Regions from separate parts of the Homo sapiens genome. Here region 1 is linked to region 2. The links are contacts of gene promoters, found by promoter capture Hi-C in blood cells and fetal thymus (Javierre and others, 2016). All regions are on one chromosome and are shown on one strand. The core of a region is centred on a gene start or on the middle of the fragment in contact, and the rest is flanking DNA. Distances in the headings are between cores, read along the strand shown.

The links. The method cuts DNA at HindIII sites, captures the fragments that hold promoters and counts their contacts. A CHiCAGO score of 5 or more calls a contact.
Region 1: the fragment with the promoter of TYW5 here is called in contact with the fragment with the promoter of CFLAR in region 2 in 1 of 17 cell types (fetal thymus); the score reaches 6.8 in fetal thymus.

The regions. Positions count from the first base shown.
Region 1 is chr2:199,954,006-199,957,747 of GRCh38, forward strand. It overlaps TYW5 (tRNA-yW synthesizing protein 5), which reads right to left and starts at 1,486. Exons shown (of 8, transcript NM_001039693.3): 1 at 1,388-1,486. The coding sequence starts at 1,465. It overlaps MAIP1 (matrix AAA peptidase interacting protein 1), which reads left to right and starts at 1,577. Exons shown (of 5, transcript NM_001394955.1): 1 at 1,577-2,243. The coding sequence starts at 1,794. RefSeq lists enhancers at 1,130-2,329, 1,440-1,559, 1,730-1,889, 1,910-2,009. The HindIII fragment of the contact is 7,808 bases long and covers 1-2,401 here.
Region 2 is chr2:201,114,088-201,117,762 of GRCh38, forward strand. It overlaps CFLAR (CASP8 and FADD like apoptosis regulator), which reads left to right and starts at 2,077. Exons shown (of 10, transcript NM_003879.7): 1 at 2,077-2,394. It overlaps LOC105373836 (a long non-coding RNA gene), which reads right to left and starts at 2,597. Exons shown (of 3, transcript XR_923785.3): 1 at 857-2,597. RefSeq lists an enhancer at 2,063-2,322 and a silencer at 2,353-2,562. The HindIII fragment of the contact is 6,122 bases long and covers 1-3,112 here.

The DNA of each region.
Region 1 (3,742 bases), core at 236-2,735, 1.2 Mb before region 2:
CCCATCTAGTACAAGTCTCCAAACTAATAAAGGCTTGAATCCTCTCCCGTAGGTTGCTATCAAAAGAAAAACTTCATTCCTCCCGCATCCCCCCAACCCCGCCTTTTTTTTTTTTAAGCTAGGGTCTCACCCTCTCGCCCATGCTGGAGCAGTGGCAGGATCATGGATCACTGCAGCCTCGACCTCCCGGGCTCAAGCAGATCCTCCGACCTCAGCCTCCAGAGTAGCTGGGAATACAGGCGTGCGCCACCACGCCCGGCTAATTTTTGTATTTTTTGTACAGACGGGGATTCACCATATTGGCCAGGCTGGTCTTGAACTCCTGACCTCAAGTGATCCACCGACCTGGGCCTCCCAAAATGTTAGGATTACTGGCATGAACCACGGCGCCCAGCCCATCCGACTTTTGTAACACTCAGAATTGTAGTTTTGTTTGTTTGTTTGAGACCGAGTTTAGCTCTTGTTGCCCAGGCTGGAGTGCAGTGGCGCGATCTCGGCTCACTGCAACCTCCGCCTCCCGGGTTCAAGCGATTCTCCTGCCTCAGCCTCCCGAGTAGCTGGGATTACAGGTATGGGCCACCACCATGCCCGGCTAATTTTGTATTTTTAGTAGAGATGGGATTTCTACTGGCTGGTCTTGAACTCCTGACCTCCGGTGATCCGTCCGCCTCGGCCTCGCAAAGTGCTGGGATTACAGGCGTGAGCCACCGCGCCCGGCCCCAGAACTGTAATTCTATGACCACCCTTATAAATGTAAATATCAGGTAAGAAAATTGCTGGGTATTTTTCCTACCATAAACTGACTTACTGTAATCCTGTGGATTTTTCCTTTTAATACCTTGTTTTTCTTAGGTCTGGACTCCCTTGAAAAGCACTGCAAGTAAAAGCACTTTTTGTTTCCCTAATATTTCTCTATGAGTTTTCTTTTAAAGACCTAAGGTTCTAACTACAGGTATAAAAGACTCCAATGTCGGAACTAGAACCTAAGTAAGTTAGAATTCAAGACGAGTAGGAGTTTTCCGGGGGAATCCCATTGCTTTCCTTTTTGGCTCAGTGGAGTGAAAAGTTGTGCCTTCAAATCCATTAATTCGGAGCAGACTGACAGATGCGGAGTAAAGAGTTTAGGCAAAATACCTCTCGCACTCAGCTCTCCGCCATCATCTTGCTCCCCAGAAACATGGGACTTTCTCCGGAAATTTCAATAGAGGAGCCAGTCGGCGTCCCCCGTGCACCTTTCCCTTGGTCTAAGGGCCAACCAGTGATCTGCTGCCGTCCTGCGCCTCTTTCCCACACCCTGGGTCTCTAAAAACCAGTTCCCAGCTGTCCGAAAGGTAAAGACGTGTCTCTCGCTGGTTTCTCGAGGTTCTGCCCCGCGCGAGGGCCTCACCTGTGGGTAGAGGTGCTGCATGAACTGCTCCCGAGAAACGCCCTCCAGCCGGGGTACCGGGAGGTGCTGCCCGGCCATGGTTGCTCACGCCTGCCCTCTTCCAGGTCTTCGGAACTTCGGCTCTAAAGCGTTCCTCAGCGCCATCCGCCCGGAAACACGAGCGACAGAGAAAAGGTCCGCGAGGCCGGCAGACTCCAGAGTGGCTGGGTCCGAGCGCGGGGCGGGTTGCCGAAGGGCCTCGGCCTGGGCTGCGTGCTGGAGAGCGGGGACGGGGCCGACTCACCAGAGGCTGCAGCAACAGGTCCACTTTGCTCTCCAGTCTCTTTCTCCGACACCGCTGAGGCGGTTTCCCACCGACTTCCTTTCCATACAGCACCGGCAGGCACCGGTGTGAAGGGTCATAAAAATGGCGCTGGCCGCTCGTTTGCTACCCCAGTTCCTGCACTCTCGGTCGCTGCCCTGCGGGGCCGTCCGACTCCGGACTCCTGCTGTGGCCGAGGTGAGGCTGCCGTCGGCCACACTTTGCTACTTCTGCCGCTGTCGCCTCGGCTTGGGAGCGGCGTTATTTCCACGAAGCGCTAGGGCCTTGGCAGCCTCGGCGCTACCTGCCCAGGGCTCCCGGTGGCCAGTGCTCAGCAGCCCGGGACTCCCCGCAGCCTTCGCTTCTTTCCCTGCCTGCCCTCAGCGCAGCTACAGCACGGAGGAGAAGCCCCAGCAGCACCAGAAAACCAAGATGATCGTCCTGGGATTCTCCAACCCCATCAACTGGGTTAGGACTCGAATTAAGGCCTTCCTTATCTGGGCCTATTTCGACAAAGAGTTCAGCATCACAGAGTTCTCCGAGGGAGCGAAGCAGGTTTGTTTATTTCCCTGATTGACCTATCCGTCTCTAATGAGTTCAACTATTGCTCGCAGAAGTGCTTAGCAGTGAGTTTTCTTCACTGGGATACAAGTGATCAAACGTGATTAGTGGCCCAGACATAGAGCCTTCCAGCCATTGCTTGACTTAAAGTAAGCTTCTGGGCCGGGAATGGTGGTACACGCCTGTAGTCTCAGCTACTTGGGAGGCTGAAGGGGAGGATCGCTTGAACCCAGGAGTTGGACGTTGTAGTGAGCTGTGATCGTGCCATTGCACTCCAGCCTGGGATACAGAGCCAGGCCCTGTCTCAGAAAGAAAAAGCTATATGGCTCATCTTGTCTGAACATAATTTTCAAATTTACAAAGTGGGCAAGACAATGCCTGGCACATAGTAGGCACTCCATGAATGTTTGCTGAATACATTAATAAATGGGTAAGATTGAAGAATAATTGAGATAACATTTCCAAAGTGCTGTAATGTCACCTTGGGTAGAAGAGCAGAACTTCCTGCCAGCTATTAGACAGAGCCGACCAATACACCACCCCATACTCCGTAAAGATTAAACTGGAGATGAGCAATTTTACCCTTTCAAAGGATTTGCTGAGACTGCCTGGTGGCTAAGTGCACAGCACCCTGCACACAGAAAATATTTAGCCTTTAGAGATTCTTATCCCTGACTTTGTTAGTTACGTACCTGTTTCTGAATGGCTGATTATACCTTGCCTTACCCTTGTGACATATGGTCACTTGGGTCCTGAGATTATTTGTAGATTTTGTGGGTACATGCTTTTTTTTTTTTTTTTTGGACTCCTTTACAGATTGTATCGTTCCCAAACATTGCAGAACTGCTGATAACAATAGAAGTCGGCCAGGCATGGCGGCTCACGCCTGTAATCCCAGTACTTTGGGAGGCCGAGGCAGGTGGATCACAAGGTCAGGAGTTCGAGACCAGCCTGGCCAATATGGTGAAACAGTGTCTCTTCTAAAAATACAAAAATTAGGCGTGGCGAGCCCCTGTAGTCCCACCTACTCTGGAGGCTGAGGCAGGAGAATTGCATGAACCCGGGAGGTGGAGGTTGCAGTGAACCAAGATTGCGCCACTGCACTCCAGCCTGGGTGACAGAGCGAGACTCCGTCTCAAAAAACAAAAACAAACAAAAAAACCACAATAGAAGTCAGAAAGTTTATTTCCCGCTTCATACCTCCATATGCCTTAAAACCATGCTATTGGTGTAATCATTTTACAGTATTGGTTGTATACTGGTATTGATATTTTACTCCAAATTTATTTCAGATTCTTTCCATAATCATGGCCATTTGTATTTATAAGACCAATCAGTTGTAAATCAAATGTTTTCAACTTTGTTTAATAAGTGTCAGTATTAACTCCTGCTGCCTGCTTCTCTGAGTCAACTCTTGACTACTATATATATTTATATAAAAAAAGTCAAAGAACAAACTTGATTAAGATGCTTAACTCAGCATTATAATTGAT
Region 2 (3,675 bases), core at 827-3,326:
TCTTACTCTGTCTCCCAGGCTAGAGTGCACTGGCATAATCTAGGCTCACTGCAACCTCCGCCTCCCGGGTTCAAGCAATTCTCTGCCTTAGCCTCCTGAGTAGCTGGGATTACAGGCGCCCGCCATCACACCCAGTTAATTTTTTGTATTTTTAGTAGAGATGGGGTTTCACTATCTGGGCCAGGCTGGTCTTGAACTCCTGACCTCGTGATCCACCCGCCTCAGCCTCCCAAAGTGCTGGGATTACAGGCATAAGCCATTGCGCCGGGCCACAAATTTTTTTTTAAAGAATTAGCTGGGCATGGTGGCACCTGTAGTGGCACACCTAGCATGGTGGCATGCTAGGACCTGTAGTCCTAGCTACTCAGGAGGCTGAGGCAGAAGGATCACTTGAACCTGGGAGGTTAAGGCTGCAGTGAGCTGTGATCGGGTCACTGCACTCCAGCCTGGAGTGAGACCCTGTCTCAAAAACAAACAAAAAACCAAACTTGGATAACTGACAGAGTTTAGGATAGAATTACATGGAAAAACCAACAAAACAAGACAATTATTAACTCCAGAAAAAACTAAAAGTTGTGTGGGAAAGGAAAAGTAATCATAGTTTGGTACATAACTTGGCTGTGACTACCGTTTACATGATTATAATAGCATATATACTGAAGATTAATCAAACAGAATATAACTATCTTGGGAAGATGGAGAGATTAAAAAAAAAGGTTGGGGGTGAATATGGGGTGAAAGTGATGGAGAAAAAGAGCTGAAGTCTCCTCTGGTGTCTCAGCACTCCACCCAAGGTAGAGCCTCTGGATGGAAGAAGGAATCTCCCACCTCTCCACCACACTCCCCCAGGATTTACCTTCAGCATCAGGTAGCTAGGGGCAAGATGAGAAATGCTGATATGCTGGTCTCTGACTGGGAGCTGTGGGAAGAGAGAGGTTCTGAGTTGCAGCAGTCTGGAGTGGAGTCTCTTGCTGAACAAAGGGAGAGGTTTGGTTTAAATACCACAGACTGACTCTCACATTCTGATCCAAGAGTTTTCATAGATTTTTTGGAACAGATGTTTCTTCATTTGCTGTTTGCCCTTAGGACCATTTCAAAGGCTTTAAATGGTTAATGGTTGTTTGTTGTTTTAAATAATTTTCAGTTTCACTAGGGGTGAATCCCGAGCTCTTCATGCCGTCCTGCTGTTAGTCTCTCTTGGTATTATTCTTCACCTTTCCTGTGAGTTTAAAATTATCTCAAGAAAAGTTAAAGCTCTTTAAGAATCACAATAAAGTAGTTATTAGGAATAAATAAAAACGTAGAGGGGCGCGGTGGCTCACGCCTGTGATCCCAGCACTTTGGGAGGCCGAGGCGGGCAAGGATCACTTGAGGCCAGCAGTTGGAGACCAGCCTTGCCAACATGGTGAAACCCCATCTCTACTAAAAATACAAAAAAAAAAAAAAATTAGTCGGGCATGGTGGCTTGCACCTGTGGTCCCCGCTACTTGGGAGGCTGAGGGCTGGATGGTTTGAGAGCGGGAAATCCAGGCTGCAGTGAGCTGTGATGGCGCCACTGCCTTCTAGCCTGGGCGACAGCGCGAGACCCTGTCTCAAGAAGGAAAACAAAAAAAAACAAACAAAAACATACACACAAAAAACCACAAAGTGTGTTCACGTTTGCTATGACTCCCAGACAACAATTGTAAACACTCGCGCCGGGCGTGGTGGCTCACGCCTGTAATCCCAGCACTTTGGGAGGCCGAGGCGGGCGGATCACGAGGTCAAGAGTTCGAGACCATTCTGGCCAACAGTGAAACCCCGTCTCTACTAAACACAAAAATTAGGCGGGCGTGCTGGCGCGTGCCTGTAGTCCCAGCTACTCGGGAGGCTGAGGCAAGAGAATCGCTTGAACTAGGAAGGCGGAGGTTGCAGTGAGCTGAAATTGCGCCACTGCACTCCAGCCTGGGCCACAGAGCGAGACTCTGTCTCAAAAAAGAAGGAAAGAAAGAAAGAAAAAAAAAAACACTCGCAGTGTTTACTCCTAACGCGTGGAACTTGTGTCGACATCCACCCCCGGTTACTGCATACTCAGTCACACAAGCCATAGCAGGAAACAGCGAGCTTGCAGCCTCACCGACGAGTCTCAACTAAAAGGGACTCCCGGAGCTAGGGGTGGGGACTCGGCCTCACACAGTGAGTGCCGGCTATTGGACTTTTGTCCAGTGACAGCTGAGACAACAAGGACCACGGGAGGAGGTGTAGGAGAGAAGCGCCGCGAACAGCGATCGCCCAGCACCAAGTCCGCTTCCAGGCTTTCGGTTTCTTTGCCTCCATCTTGGGTGCGCCTTCCCGGCGTCTAGGGGAGCGAAGGCTGAGGTGGCAGCGGCAGGAGAGTCCGGCCGCGACAGGACGGTACGTGCCCCGCGCTCGACCCCCGCGCTGGCGGCGCCGGAGCTGTCCCAGACCCCAAGCCCCGACGCCCGGCCCTGAGTCAGCATTGCAGCAGGCCCTGCGCCGCCGCGCCCCGCGTCCCACCCCGCGCCGCTCCTCACAGCCCTGCGCTCCGGGAAACTGCAGGTGGCCGGCAGTGGCCAGGGGATGGCGGGGGCGCTTCTGGAACCTGACTCAGTTTTGTAGGTTCCTTATCTCGGTTGTTTACCGCGGGCTTTGCGGAATGCCCCCGCTTCCGTTTCCGCCCGGCTCCGAACCCCCGAACCCCTTCTACCCGCAACTCCGCCCCGGATTCCCAGAAAGGGGCGACCTGGGCCACAGCGGTACAAGCTGCACCCCGATGGACCTGAGAGACCGGAAGTAACCCTTGGCCAACTCTGGCCGCCCCCTGCAGCCGCAGCCCCAGAGGCCCACCCGCGAGCTTCAGTGGCGGGCCCTCAGCGTCGTGTAAACTTTGCTTAAAATGATCTTGAGAGTTCAATTCTTGGGGTGAACTGTTGAGAAGATCTGGCATTTTTCCTTTCGAAAGTTGTTGGGAACGTGGACTTTCCCAACAATTGTGTATGCGCTCGATCTCACTCAGTGGGAGCCGCCGCCCTGGAGGGAATTTCACAATAGCCTGGTCAGGGCGGTTATTTTCCAGAGCAGTTTAATGTCTATTTTGCCCAAGTGCAAGGAAAGCTTGCCTTGGGAAAGCTGGGAATGCTTGGCTAATGAAAAGTTTTTAGAGCCTTTTAAAATGAACCTGTTTCTGCCACTTTTCCACCGCCTCAAAACGACTGGGAAATGTAAACTGGCTTCAAGATGTTCTTGCTTGAGGGTGTCTGGATTTGGACAGAAGGCCATGTTCTTTTAATATTAACAGTGGCACGCAGTAGAACAAAGGCCACTGAAATTCAGAATCAGTTTTTGGCTCCACGGGCAGGAAGTAAATTCAAGGACGCCAGAGGTCTTGCGAATATTTTAATTGGTTGACATTTGAAATTTGTTCTTAAGCAATGAGGGGTGAAACCAGTAGGGGGATAGCGTATAGCATAAGTAAAGCTTTTTGGACATCAACAAACTGCGATAATCTACAACAGACAGCGGGCTCTGGAAGGTTTGACCTGCTTTAGAGAGAGATTTCCGATAAGAGGAACGGAGTTTTTGGCACTTTTCGGTTTGGTGATTCCCCTAAATAACCTTACAAAAGTTTCGTTGAACAAAAAACCTGGCTGGAGCTCCAAGATCTTTTTTTTTTTT